2 separate regions of the Homo sapiens genome follow, and region 1 is linked to region 2. Evidence: promoter capture Hi-C in human tissues and cell types (Jung and others, 2019). All regions are on one chromosome and are shown on one strand. Each heading gives the region's core, a stretch centred on a gene start or on the middle of the fragment in contact. The rest is flanking DNA. Distances are from core to core; before and after follow the strand shown. Region 1 holds the start of MIER2 (MIER family member 2). Region 2 overlaps TPGS1 (tubulin polyglutamylase complex subunit 1).

Region 1 (6,951 bases), core at 4,448-6,947, 170 kb before region 2:
AAATGGATAAACAACTTCACCAAAATTAAAAACTTTTGTGCTTCAAAGGACGCCCCCAAGAAAGTGAAAGGACAACTGAGAGAATAGGAGAAAATATCTGAAAAATAATCTATCTGATAAGGAACTTCTTCTCAGTATAAAGAACGTTTAAAACTCAATAAGGAAGAGAGAATCCCATTGAAAAATAGGCAAAGGATCTGAACAGACATTTCTCCAAAGAGGACAGACAAATGGCCAATAAGCACAGGAAAAGATACTCAATGTAATATCAGGCAAAAGCAAGCAAAGTCCACACTACGATACCACTTCCTAATCAGAGAATAAAAACTGTGCTCAAAAAGACAGTAACAAGTGTTGACAAGAACGTGGACAAAGTGGAACTCTCCTGTGCCCTGCCGGTGGGAATGTCAAAATAGTGCAGCCACTTTGGAAAATAGTCCAGCAATTCCTCCAAAAGTTAAATAGTATTTAACCATGTGACCCAGGTCAGGGTCCTAATATCCATCAGCTGACAAAAACAAAACAAAGCACTAGCAACGGGGCAAAGAAGGACGCACTGACACACTACCACATGGACGCACCTCGAAAGACTCATGCTCCTGAAACAGCCAGACACAAAAGGCCACGTGTCGTATGACTCATTTAATCTCAAATGTCTAGAGCAGGCAAATTCGTAGAGACAGAAAATGGATTCCTGGTGGAAAGGGGCTGGGAGTTGATCTGGGGTTTGGGGAGTGACCACTAAGGGGTGTGGGGTTCCTTTTGGGGTGATGAAAATGTTTTAAAATTGACTGTGATGGTGGCTGCACAACTGGGTGAATACACTAACAACCACTGAACTGGACACATTAAAACGGTGAACTGCATGGTAAATGAATTATACCTCGGGAAAGCTGCTGCCAAAAAGGGTAGATTAAAATATTTAATGAAGTTTAAAAACTTGTGTAGTAAGAATTTCAATACTTCTTCACGGGTCCTCAAGAAAAAACCTCACAGGTGGTATAATCATTCCCCTCACAAAAAAACAAGGAAACAAGCTCAAAGAGATAGAGTCAGTTACCCAAGCTCACACAGCAGGTTCAGTGGTGCAGTTACAAAGTGGAGCTCAGGCCAGCGGCTTGCAAACACCTTCCAGCCCATCACACTACTGGGGAACACAACGGCTAGTACAGTTGACCCTTGAACAACGCAGGGGTTACGGGTGCCAACCCTCCACACAGGTGAAAACCCATGCATGACTTCTGACTCCCCGACACTTGATTAATAGCCTCCTGCTGGTCGGGAGCACTGCCGATAACATCAACAGTTGATAAACACATATTTTATATATTGTATTATGTACTGTATTCTCACAAAAAAAGTAAACTACAGAAAAAGTTATTAAGAAAATTGTAAGAAAGAGAAAGTGTATTTACTATTCATTAAGTGGAAGTGGATCATCCTAAAGGTCTTCGTCCTCATCATCTTCACGTTGAGTAGGCTGAGGAGGAAGAGGAGGGGTTGGTCTTCCTGTCTCGGGGTGGCAGAGATGGAAGGAAATCCATGTATAAGTGACCCATGCAGTTCAAACCCGTGAGGTTCAAGGGCCAACTGTACAGCAACGTACAGCAAAGCCACGGAAGGGAGCTGGGGCAGCCACTGGCCCTGGAGTGACTCTGGCAACAAGGCTGCCAAGGACCAAGGAGCACCTCAAGCTCTAAGTGGAGACTGACAGGACCCATCCAGCTTTAGAAAGTTTAGCTCCGTGGTGGCAGAGGGCAAACAGAAGACAGAGGGAAGGAAGAGCCAGCAGGGCCCCCAGGGGGAAGGGGCCACGGGACTGGAAGCAAGCAGCACAGAGTGCATGGCAGCTGCAGGGGCATCTCACGCCTCCTGCCCTGGGGTTGGCCTGGGTCTGGCAGAGATGGCCTCACCTCTTTCCAGGACACAGCAGGTGGCCACCAGCCCACAACCACTCTACACAGCCACACGCGGTGTGAAGCCACAGGGAAAGCATCCTAAGTGACCTCTGAAATCACCCTCAGCCCCCTCTAGGACCCTCTGGGTAGGGGTCGAGGACAGGTTCTCTGGGCAACGGTTCCTGCCTCAGTCAGGGGCTGGCTTTCTACTCCCGCAACCAGGAGCCTGACTAACAAGGGGATGGCAGGCGACCACATCAAATGAGGCCCCAGTCTGGACGGCAAGTTGACAACAGTCCCGCAGGCTTGAGATCCACACCGAGTAACAGGGAGTTAACATATGGCCCCAGGAGAGGTGGTCTGCAGGGTCTGAGGAGGATCTGGCCCTTATATGACGTGCCATTTAACAGGAGAGCTAAGGCAGAGGGGGGCAAAGAGGGAAGCGGCTGGGAACGGCAGAAAGGGCCGCTAACAGGGAGGCCCTGAGCAGCCTGGGATCCCCAAGTTCATTTCCAGGCGACTCTGAGTTCCTGGAACTTACCACGGAATACAGACTTCATGGATCTTCTTCCTCCCGCTGCCCCTGCCTGGTGTCCAGGTGCAAGTCTACTCTCAAAGCAGGTTCCCAGGGACTCTACTTCACTCACTCAGAACACTCTGCATGTTTCCCTCTGAGTTCACTCCCAGGAAAGACAAAGTCCTCTGTTTTGTCAAAGTGGAAGCAGGAAAAAGAGGGGGAGCAGGCCAACGGTATTCCAGGCAACAAAAAAAGCAAAGGAAGCGTAAACAGCATTCTAGAAACAAGGTCCAGAGGACAACAGGCCACAGACCCAGGCGTCCACCAGGGTCTTCAGGCAGTAGAAGCGGCAGCCAGCTACTCAACATAAAGACTGCACCAGAGGACTGGGTGCAGAGCACAGACCAGCCCTTCCCCCAGGGCAGCCCCCACAGGTATAGAGTGCACCAAAAACACAAGAGGCCACCCTGCAAAGCTTAACCCAAAATGACAGGGTGGCAGGTTCCATTCGCCAAGATGGCTGCACCTACCTCTCCCATGCCCCAAGCCCTCTCCCCAGTGTGACTGAAACAACCTCCTCCTAAGAGCCATGCTTGACCCTCCTCCCACCCACACCAACTCAAGTGCCAGGCGCTTGTTGGACTACCCAGCACCCCACTCCTCCGTCTGACCAATGTTCCCTGGGCGCCCACTCTGGGCTCAGCAAGGCAGTGGCGTGGTGGTTAACCTGAGAAACAAGTTCCACCTGCCTCCACCCACATGGAGTTGCTAGTTTTGGACACAGACAACAAACAAGTGGACATGTATGGTACCGAGAAGAGAAAACAGGGCGCACGGGCTCTGCAACTGCGGGTCAGGGAAGGCCTGGGGGGCCTCAGTCGAGGTGGAACCATCGTTGGCAGCCCCCAAATGGGTAGAGTGCACCAGCAAACAGGAGCCCAGGGCCCTAGAGTAGGGGGCAGATCCGTGGGGACCACCTCACAGGGCTGTGGGACTCAGCAAGGAGGAGCATTTTATCCCAGGGACCATGAAAAGCCATGGAGGGTTTTAGGTAGGAGCAAAAGATGGTGCTCTTAGGTTTTTAAAAGATCAATCTAGTATGCCTGAGAAAAGTATGAAGCATTCCCGTCTGCCACTGTGGTGCTTATGATTATTCTGGGATACTGATACAGAATAAAGTAGCTAGTACTGATCACGTGCTATAAAGTTACAAATTGCCACTTTTACGGGTTAAAAACAGTGGAATATCGTCAACTTCACAAGATTCAACTTCCATGTACAAGCCGTTGTGGCAGGACCTCATCAGACCTCCTAGCTCTGAAGGGTGACCATTAAACTTCCCATTTCAGAGATGAGGAAAAGGAAGTTCTGAGTCACTGGGCAACCTGCCCAAGACCACACAGAACAAGTCCGGTGGTCAGACAGCTTGCCATGGCTCCTCACGCTCAGCACCTCATACTTGTTGGTCCTAACCCACCCACGTCTCTCTCTGACCAGACTCTGCATCCCTGTAGGAGAGGCCCTGTCTGCTCCATTCACTCCCAGATCCTCAGGCCGAGGACAGAGCGGGACCTCCTTAGAAAATCAAATCAAATTCACTCAACAGGGCACCACCCCAAAGTGTAAAACAGGGTTAACAGGAGCAGCCGGACCACAAGCTGCTGTGCACATTTACGGAGCTCAGCCTAGAGCAGGGCAGAACAGCCACATGGCAGCTCTGGGGGAGGCTGGCTTGGGAGTCTGACTTGTGCCATCCCAGACACAGAGCTACCTGTCAGGCCACGTGTGTTGCCCAGATTCCAGGAGCACAACTCATTCGACCACCACGTCGCTGCAGGGCCACTGGGAGACGCGGCTTCTGCCTCCGACCCTGGAGGACAGCCACCATCTGCATGGGGACTCAGTCTCCCTAAGCGTCTCAAGAAGAACTAATTCTCGATGAAGGAACTGGCCGGTGGTCTGGCCTAGTATCGAGACACCTACACCGTCTTTGGCATAAACACAGGGCCTGTTACTGCCCCTGAGGTCGTCACCAGGGGGAGAGAATGGCCAGTCCTGCCTCCCACAACGCCCAAGACATAAACACGCAACGTGGCACCACGGCCAGGCCGCAGTTCCAATCCCGGCTTCCCACGAGGCGGCTGTGCCTGGCTGGGTGGGCACCTTTTCCTTTGGGCTCTATCCCAGAGATAGGATCAGCTCTTGAGTCTGCCCGCCTGTCGTAACTTCTGCGCACAGAAGTCATGCACTGAGTCCCACTGACTGAGCACCTCGCAGCCGCCGCACCTTCACCTACATTATCTCTTTCCATCTTCACCAGGGCCCTCCAAGGTGAAAGCAAGTCCACACAGGCTCATCCACCACTCCAAAATCAAAAAAAGCTTCAAAAGCGAAAGTTTCTTCCTTCCTGGTTTGACCTGACACGAAGCTATCTGTTGTCTTATCCTAGACAGTCCTAGGTGGGTTTGATCAAACATCACAGTCCAAAATCCCACAGATCCTCAAATTGGAAAAATTCTGGATTCCAAAATATAGCTGGTCCCAAACATTTCAGATAAAGGGTCCCGGGCTTGTTTCCTGGACGAGGGAGGAGGCTCCAGAAGTAACTTCGTGCCCGGGAGAGGCTGGTCCAACTCTTCTGAGATCAGCCCCGACGCTCTCTAGGCCCCGGCAGACCCACCCACCCTGCGCCCAGTTCGCGCCAGGCGGGTCCGCGTCGGGAGTTCAAATCCCGCCCGGGGTCTGACCCAGCCCCGCCGGGGGGCTCGCGGGCGGCGGAGGCGCGGTGGGTCCACCGGGATCCCGATGGGGAGCGCGGGGCGCCTGGCGGCCCCAGCACTCGGCAAAGTTGGCAAAGGCGCGGGAGGGGAGGCCTGCGCGCCGCGGGGCCCGGGCCGGGGCCGGGAACCGGAGCCGGACCCTGGAACGGAGCCGCGCGCCCACCGGACCCCCGACACCAGCCCCGCCCCGCGTCCCTCCCCTCCCCCACCCCGGCCCCCGCCCGCCCCGCGCCGCCGCGCATGCGCACTGCAGCCCGCGATGTGGCAGCCGGGGGAGTTGGGGGGTGGGGGCCGGCCGGGGGCGGCCGCCGATGGAGCCCCGCGCCCCTCCGGCCCCGGACGGGCCAGGCGCCCCGGCCGGCCTCAGAGCTCCAGAGCGGGGCTCTCCGTCCCTGGGGCCCACGACGAGGCCGAGCCACGGCGGCGGGGGGCGCGGACGCGCGGGGGCGGGGGGCCGGCTCCCCCGGCCCGCTCACTCACCTCCGCCATGGCCGTGTGTGCGCGGGAGGCGGTGGCCGCGCCGGGATCCCCGGATGAGGGGCCGCGCACTCATTGGCTGTGGAGCCTGGAGGGCGGGGCAGGGGGCGGAGCCTGGAGGGGGCGGAGAGCGGGCCGGGCGCGTAGTAGGTGCGCGGGCGCGGGCGCGGGCGCGCAGCCGAGCGTGGCCGGCGGCTTCTGGCGAGCTTGCGGTGTCTTTCCGGCCGTCTCTGCTGGACCCTGATCTTGGCCTTGGCCTTGGCGGAGGAGACTGCATTCCATAAAAATACGAATTCCTGATAATCACACCTGCGTGGGGACCACGTGGTCCTGTGTGACCTCTTCATTCCCTCGGCTGCTCGCTGTTAATACCCCGCGTGGCAGACTAGGAAACTGAGGCCCAGGGCGACGGGCCACCCAGAGTGTCAGTGATAGAGCCAGAATTGGTGTCCGGGCTGCGTGGTTCTGGAATTTTCTGCACTTTCGCACCCGTGATGAGCAAACTAGCGCGCGGAGGAACCAATCGGGGAGCTTGCGAACGCGCACCAGTCGGAGAGGTTTTAGAAACGGTGGCCCCGCGCCGGAGAGCCCAAGGCGGGAGGCAGGGAGGTGGGCTTGACCCCAGGGCCATTTGGTTCTGCAGTCCGTCGTTTCGCAGATTGAACATTTCTGGAACACGTGCACGTTCTGATCCTGAGGGTTTGAAGGAGACAGCCCTAACGCCTGTCTTCAGGGCGTTTAGAGTGGAGGATGGGAAGGCAAGGACTCGCCACACCTTAAATTTGAGACGGATAAGTGCCGTGAATCTTCGGGGCGCACGATGCAGAGAGAGGATAGGAAGCAGGGGTGGGGCGTGAAGAGGCAGGGGCCAGGTGGGAGCTGTGGGGCCTGGACCAGAGTGCAGAGAGACTTGAGAAGGTGGACACCACAAGACTCGCTGATGGAGGGAAGCTGGAGAGAGTGAAGGATGGCCTCCAGATGTCTGGCTTGCGCAAATGAGTGGAGGGCGGTTCCTACTGAGACCAGGAAGAAGAGAACTGGAGACCAGGAAGAAGGGAATTGGGGACCAGGAGGAAGGGAATTGGGGACCAGGAAGAAGAGAATGAGTCTCATTCCTGTTTCCCAGTGATCAGCCAATGAATAGTGAGAACTTGACATGCATCAGCCTTGATTCCTGATGCAAAATCATTACTCAGTCCTCTGAGAATTCACCAACCAAGAGATAGAAGAACCACTCTGGAGGGGTCTACCCTCACTCCTTTTTTGGTTTACATCATTG
Region 2 (6,619 bases), core at 234-2,733:
GTCAGGCGTGATGGGAGCTCGGGCCGCCGCGCTGACACTGCGACTGCCCCCAGCGCATTTTGGGGATGACCTCATGGATGGTAAAAGCGCCCAGCGGATTATAAGGGCCAACAAATGGGGCCTTTACTACTTGGGAGGGAAAAGGAGCGTACAGCCAGATGGGCCTAGAGTTGAATTGCAGGTCGCTGCCCTCCTGCCTCTGGGCCTCAGTTTCCTCCTCCATAGCAGAGCTTTGACCCTCGAGCTCGCTGAGATGGCACGTCCATCCCTAAGCCCTGAACTGAGCAGCAGTGATGACCAGGGAGGCACGTGTTCACCAGGCACCCACCGTGCACCGGCCCAGCATTACTGAGCACCTACTGTGCACCCGCCCAGCATTTACTGAGCACCTACTGCATGCCGGCCCTGCATTACTGAACACCTACTGCACACCAGCCCAGCATTACTGAGCACCTACTGCATACTGGCCCTGCATTACTGAGTACCTACTGCACACCAGCCCAGCATTACTGAGTACCTACTGCACACCAGCCCAGCATTACTGAGTACCTACTGCACACCAGCCCAGCATTACTGAGTACCTACTGCACACCAGCCCCACATTTACTGAGCACCTACTGCACACTGGCCCCACATTTACTGAGCACCTATTGCATCCTGGCCCAGCATTTAGTGAGCACCCACTGCACACAACCCCAGCATTACTGAGCACCTACTGTGCACTAGTCCTGCATTACTGAGCACCTGCTGCACACCAACCTGCCCCGGCCCCACATTTACTGAGCACCTATTGCATGCTGGCCCAGCATTTACTGAGCACCCACTGTACACAGACCCAGCATTACTGAGCACCCACTGCACACTGGCCCCACATTTGCTGAGCACCTACTATGTACCAGCCCTGCATTCACTAAGCACCTACTGTACACCAGCCCTGTATTACTGAGCACCCACTGCACACTGACCCTACATTTACTGAGCACCTATTGCATGCTGGCCCAGCATTTACTTCACTCCCACTGCACACCGCCCCAGCATTACTGAGTACCTACCGTGTACTGGCCCTGCATTCACTGAGCACCTACTCTACACCGGCCCTGTATTACTGAGCACCCACTGCACACCGACCCCACGTTTACTAAGCACCTATTGCTTACTGGCCCAGCATTTACTGAGCACCCACTGCACACCGCCCCAGCATTACTGAGTACCTATTGCACACCAGCCCCACATTTACTGAGCACCTATTGCATTCTGGCCCAGCATCACTGAGCACCTACTGTGTACCAGCCCTGCATTACTGAGCACCTGCTGCACACCAACCCTGCATTTACTGAGCACCTACTGCATGCTGGCTTAGCACTTCCCCGGCACCTACCACAGGTGGCCCACAGAAAGGTGAAGTCGTGTGCCCAGGTCATGCCGGAGGGAAGGCTGCCCTCCTCACCATGAAGCTGAGCTCCCAGAAGGGAAAAGCGTAAGCCCTGAGGTTGGCCACTTCCTCTCTGGGACCCTTGGCCAGACCATGGGGCTGCCCTGAGCCTCAGTTTCCCTATATGTCCCAGAGGAAGTAACAGGCCACTAGCATGAGGCCTGGCCGGGAACTGATGGGGGGAGTGAGGCCAGGGGGTTAAGCAGCCCACCCAGGGTCCTGCAGCGGCCCCCACGCTGGCCACGGTGCTCCCTGGCCACTCCCTGGTGCCCTCCACGGGAGTGTGTGTCACACTACCAGCACACGAGTGGCACGTAGTAAGGCCTCAGGCTCCTCACTGGGGCAGGGAATCGAACCCACCCCAGAGCCGGCAGCAGGGCTGACAGCCTTCTTCTGTAAGGGGCCAGATAGTGAACATTTCAGCTTTGCGTGGCAGCCTCCATCCTGACATTCAGCTCTACGGTTCTGGTCGGAAGCTGCCACAGGCCACATGTCAGCGGACTGATGTGGTTATGTTCCGATAAAGCTTTATTTACAAAAGCAGGCAGCAGGTCGTATTTGACCCTCAGGCTGACTGTGGGGCCTTGCCTGTGGGATTGTGGGGAGAGAAATACCACCACTGGCCCCGAGCAGCAACTGTCACCTGTAATCCCAGCAGTTTGGGAGGCTGAGGCAGGAGGATCGCTTGAGCCCAGGAGGTGGAGGCTGCTGTGAGCCCTGATTGTACCACTGCTCTCCAGCCTGCACAACACAGTGAGACCCTGTCTCAAAAAAAAAAAAAAAAGAAAAAATGCAATGTCAGCTGTGTTAAATGTTCAGCACAGACTGGGCGCAGTGGCTCACACCTGTAATCCCAGCACTTTGGGAGGCCGAGGTGGGCGGACCACGAGGTCACTCGAGATCCAGACCATCCTGGCCGACATGGTGAAACCCCGTCTCTACTAAAAATACAAAAATTAGCTGGGTGTGGTAACACACGCCTGTAATCCCAGCAGCTCAGGAGGCTGAGGCAGGAGAATCGCTTGAACCCGGGAGGTGGAGGTTGCTGTGAGCTGAGATTGTGCCACTGCACTCCAGCCTGACAACAGAGTGAGACACTGTCTCAAAAAAAGAAAGAGGGCCGGGCGCGGTGGCTCACGCCTGTAATCCCAGCACTTTGGGAGGCCGAGGCGGGTGGATCACGAGGTCAGGAGATCGAGACCATCCCGGCTAAAACGGTGAAACCCCGTCTCTACTAAAAATACAAAAAATTAGCCGGGCATAGTGGCGGACGCCTGTAGTCCCAGCTACTTGGGAGGCTGAGGCAGGAGAATGGCGTGAACCCGGGAGGCGGAGCTTGCAGTGAGCCGAGATCCCGCCACTGCACTCCAGCCCGGGCGACAGAGCGAGACTCCGTCTCAAAAAAAAAAAAAAAAGGAAGAAAGAAAGAAAGAAAAGAAAAAAACAAATGTCAGTTGTGTTAAATGTTGGGCACAGTATTTGGCCACATGTAAACAGGCGCTGCTGCTGCAGGGAGGGAGACCAGAGGGTCCTGGTGTTGTGGGACAAAGAGTGGAGAGACCGAAAAAGGTTCAGGAGAGTTTATCAAGGTGATCACCGGCTCAGCTGGACATACATCCAGAAAGTCTGAGCCTCGAACAAAGGGCTTTTCCTATTTTTAAACATCGTAAGGCGGGAACTACGTGAGGCGGGAAGCAAGTTACAGAGGCGAGAAACAAAGGCAGTTAAGCATTACAGCATTTCTTTTTTCTTTTTCTTTTTTTTTTTTTTGAGACGGAGTCTCGCTCTGTCGCCCAGGCTGGAGTGCAGTGGCGCCATCTTGGCTCACCGCAACCTCCACCTCCCAGGTTCAAGCGATTCTCCTGCCTCAGACTCCCGAGTAGCTGGGACTACAGACGTGTACCACCACGTCCCGCTAATTTTTGTATTTTTAGTAGAGATGGGGTTTCACCATGTTGGCCAGGATGGCCTCAATCTCTTGACCTTGTGATCCTCCCACCTCGGCCTCCCAAAGTGCTGGGATTACAGGCGTGAGCCACCGTGCCTGGCCAACATTTCTCACATCTTGAGAAAAACATGTCTTACAACCTAAACTTATCGGTTTTGTGACCCTGCAGCCGTGCTAGGGAGGTAAGCAGGAACTCGCTGGGCCTGTAATAAACTGAGGAATGTGGAGTTGGAGAGTATAGATAAGGTCCACTGACTACAGAGAGAAGACAGGCTGTTAACATTCTCTTTTAACTTGAGTGTAAGGGTGGGGGTCACACTTTGCAGCAACTTTAAGAGGATTTTAAAATTTCTATGACTACTACTATTAGGTTAGAGCTGATTTCACTAATTCCTTCTTCACTGGGGCCAGATGCCCCAGACAGATGCCTGCCGTTGATTCAAGACATTTACTGAGCACCTACTGTGGGCAGGGCAGTGTTCTGGGCACCAGGGCTATAACCAAGACGAACTTCCGGCCCTGGAGGGCAGGTGCTCACACTGGTGGGAGACATGAAGCTCACAGGGATGTGGGACAGCGAGTGAGACAGGATGACCACTAGGAAGAAAACAGGAGGAAAGGAGTTAGGGGTCAGGGGAGGCGACATTTGAGGAGAGACCTGGAGGAGACCAGGGAGGAGGTGAGGGAGATCTGGGGGAAGGCAGTGTCACGGCCCTTGCAGAGGCCCTGAGGCCGGTCCAGTTGGAGCTGGGAAGCCAGGGCTGGATGGGAGCTGCGGGGAGGAGAGGCCTGAGCTGGGTGGAGGCTGGGAGGGGGGAGGCCAGGCTGGGTGGGGGCTGGGAGGGGGGAGGCCAGGCTGGGTGGGGGCTGGCCAGGCTGGGTGGGGGCTGGGAGGATGGAGGCCAGGATGGGTGGGGGCTGGAAGGGGGGAGGCCCAGGCTGGGGGGTGCTGGGAGGACGGAGGCCAGGCTGGGTGGGGGCTGGGAGGGGGGAGGCCAGGATGGGTGGGGGCTGGGAGGAGGGAGGCCAGGCTGGGTGGGGGCTAGAAGGGGGGAGACCCAGGCTGGGGGGTGCTGGGAGGACGGAGGCCAGGCTGGGTGGGGGCTGGGAGGGGGGAGGCCAGGCTGGGGGGTGCTGGGAGGAGGAGGCCGAGGCTGGGTAGGGGCTGGGACGGGGGAGGCCAGGCTGGGTGGAGGCGGGGATGAGGGAGACCCAGGTTGGGAGGAGGAGGCCGAGGCTGGGGGTGCTGGTGGGGAGGGGAGGCCCGGGCTGGGCGGTGCTGGGAGGAGGGAGGCCAGGCTGGGTGGGGGCTGGGAGGAGGAGGCCCAGGCTGGGTAGAGGCTGGGAGGAGGGAGATCCAGGTTGGGAGGAGGCCCAGGCTGGGTAGAGGCTGGGAGGAGGGAGATCCAGGTTGGGAGGAGGCCGAGGCTGGGGGTGCTGGTGGGGAGGGGAGGCCCAGGCTGAGGGGGTGCTGGGAGGAGGAAGGCCTGGCTGGGTGGGTGCTGGGAGGAGGGAGCCCCGGGCTGGGGGGTGCTGGGAGGAAGGAGGCCAGGCTGGGTGGGAGCTGGGAGGAGGGAGGCCCAGGCTGGGAGTGCTGGTGGGGTGGGGAGGGGAGGCCCAGGTTGAGTAGGGGCTGGGAAGAGGGAGGCCCCGGCTGGGTAGGGGCTGGGAGGAGGGAGGCCAGGCTGGGTGGGAGCTGGGAGGAGGGGAGGTCCAGGCTGGGTAGGGGCTGGGAGGAGGGAGGCCCAGGCTGGGAGTGCTGGTGGGGTGGGGAGGGGAGGCCCAGGTTGAGTAGGGGCTGGGAAGAGGGAGGCCCGGGCTGGGTAGGGGCTGGGAGGAGGGAGGCCTGGGCTTGGGATACTGGGGGGAGGAGAGGCCAGGGCTGGGAGGGGGCTGAGAGGAGGAGGCCTGGGCTGGAGATGCTGGGGGAGGAGAGGCCCAGGCTGGGGATGCTTGGGGGAGGGAGGCCTGGGCTGGGAGGGGACTGGGAGGAGGGAGGCCTGGGCTGGGGATGCTGGGGGGAGGAGAGGCCCGGGCTGGGGATGCTTGGGGGAGGAGAGGCCCGGGCTGGGGATGCTGCGGGGAGGAGAGGCCCTAGCTGGGAGAAGGGAGGCGGGGGCTCAAGAGAGGAGCTTCAGGGATAGAGGGTGAGGAGGAGGGGAGGCCGGGGATGGGGGGTAGGAGGAGAGGGGAGGCCAGGGCTGGCTGGGGGGTCGGGGAGGCTAGGGCATAGGCCTGGCGAGGAGGGGAGGCTGGGGCTGGGTGGGCGCGCGGTCTCTGCCGGCCCCCAACGTCCCCGTCTCCGCAGGGCCGCCTTCAACAACAACGTGAGCGTGGCCTACGAGTGCCTGAGCGCCGGCGGGCGCAGGAAGAGGCCGGGGCTGGACGGGCGCACCTACAGCGAGCTGCTCAGGCGCATCTGCCGGGACGGCCAAGCCCCCGAGGAGGTGGTGGCGCCGCTGCTGCGCAAGGTGCAGTGCCGTGACCACGAGGCGGTGCCGCTGAGCGTCTTCCGCGCGGGCACACTCACCTGCTTCGTGCTGCTGGAGTTCGTGGCGCGCGCCGGCGCGCTCTTCCAGCTGCTGGAGGACTCGGCCGCCGCCGTGGCCGACCGCCGCGTGGGCCAGGCCGTGCTGGACACCCTGGAGGGCGCGCTGCAGGCCAGCGACGCCGCCGCGCCCGCGCGCTTCCTGGAGGCCGGCTCGCGCTTGGGGCCCGACAGCCTGGCGCTGGCGCTGGACCGCGCCGTCGGGGGGCGGCGGCCCAGCGCGCCCATGACCCGCGAGGAGTTTCTGGAGAGGGCCGCCGCGCTCTTCATCGCGAAGGTCAAGCCGGTGGGCTGAGGCCCGTGGGCCGCGCGGATCCGGGATCTGCGCTGGGGGGTCCCCGCGTGCGGGGCGCGCGGAGCCTTCCCTTCGCCCTGGTGAGGCCCTGCCATAACCAGGCGCCCAGCCCTGCGGAGGAGGCCGGGGCTCCCAGGAAGCGGACGCCCGGTCCCCACACAGCGCCGCGGCCGCCCCTCCACCCCCGCGGGAGCCCCTGCCCCACGCTAATAAAATGTGTTGCGAGGCTGACGCTGGTGTGTATGCGAGCGCCCGCCTCCCAGCCCCGGTGCCCGCAGAAGACGCTTTTCCCCAGCAGGTCACCCACGGCCCCGGAACCGCGGCGACTGGAGGCTGGATTCGAGGCCGGAAACGCCGGGACCCCTGGACCCGGCCTGGTGGGAGCAGCGGAGGGGG

Evidence for each region. The method cuts DNA at HindIII sites, captures the fragments that hold promoters and counts their contacts. A contact is called where the count stands out against the background at its distance.
Region 1: a contact is called between the fragment with the promoter of MIER2 here and a fragment that was not itself captured in region 2, in 3 of the 25 tissues and cell types used here (IMR-90 fibroblasts, dorsolateral prefrontal cortex and lymphoblastoid cells).

The regions. Positions count from the first base shown.
Region 1 is chr19:339,099-346,049 of GRCh38, forward strand. It overlaps MIER2 (MIER family member 2), which reads right to left and starts at 5,698. Exons shown (of 14, transcript NM_017550.3): 1 at 5,676-5,698. The coding sequence starts at 5,684. RefSeq lists enhancers at 2,029-2,616, 3,803-4,754 and silencers at 5,063-5,172, 5,473-5,522, 5,593-6,042. The HindIII fragment of the contact is 27,379 bases long and covers 3,844-6,951 here.
Region 2 is chr19:513,201-519,819 of GRCh38, forward strand. It overlaps TPGS1 (tubulin polyglutamylase complex subunit 1), which reads left to right. Exons shown (of 2, transcript NM_033513.3): 2 at 5,689-6,454. The coding sequence ends at 6,223. Among named protein-coding and RNA genes, the nearest start is that of MADCAM1-AS1, 8.6 kb to the left of the region's middle. RefSeq lists an enhancer at 5,258-6,164. The HindIII fragment of the contact is 7,591 bases long and covers 1-5,279 here.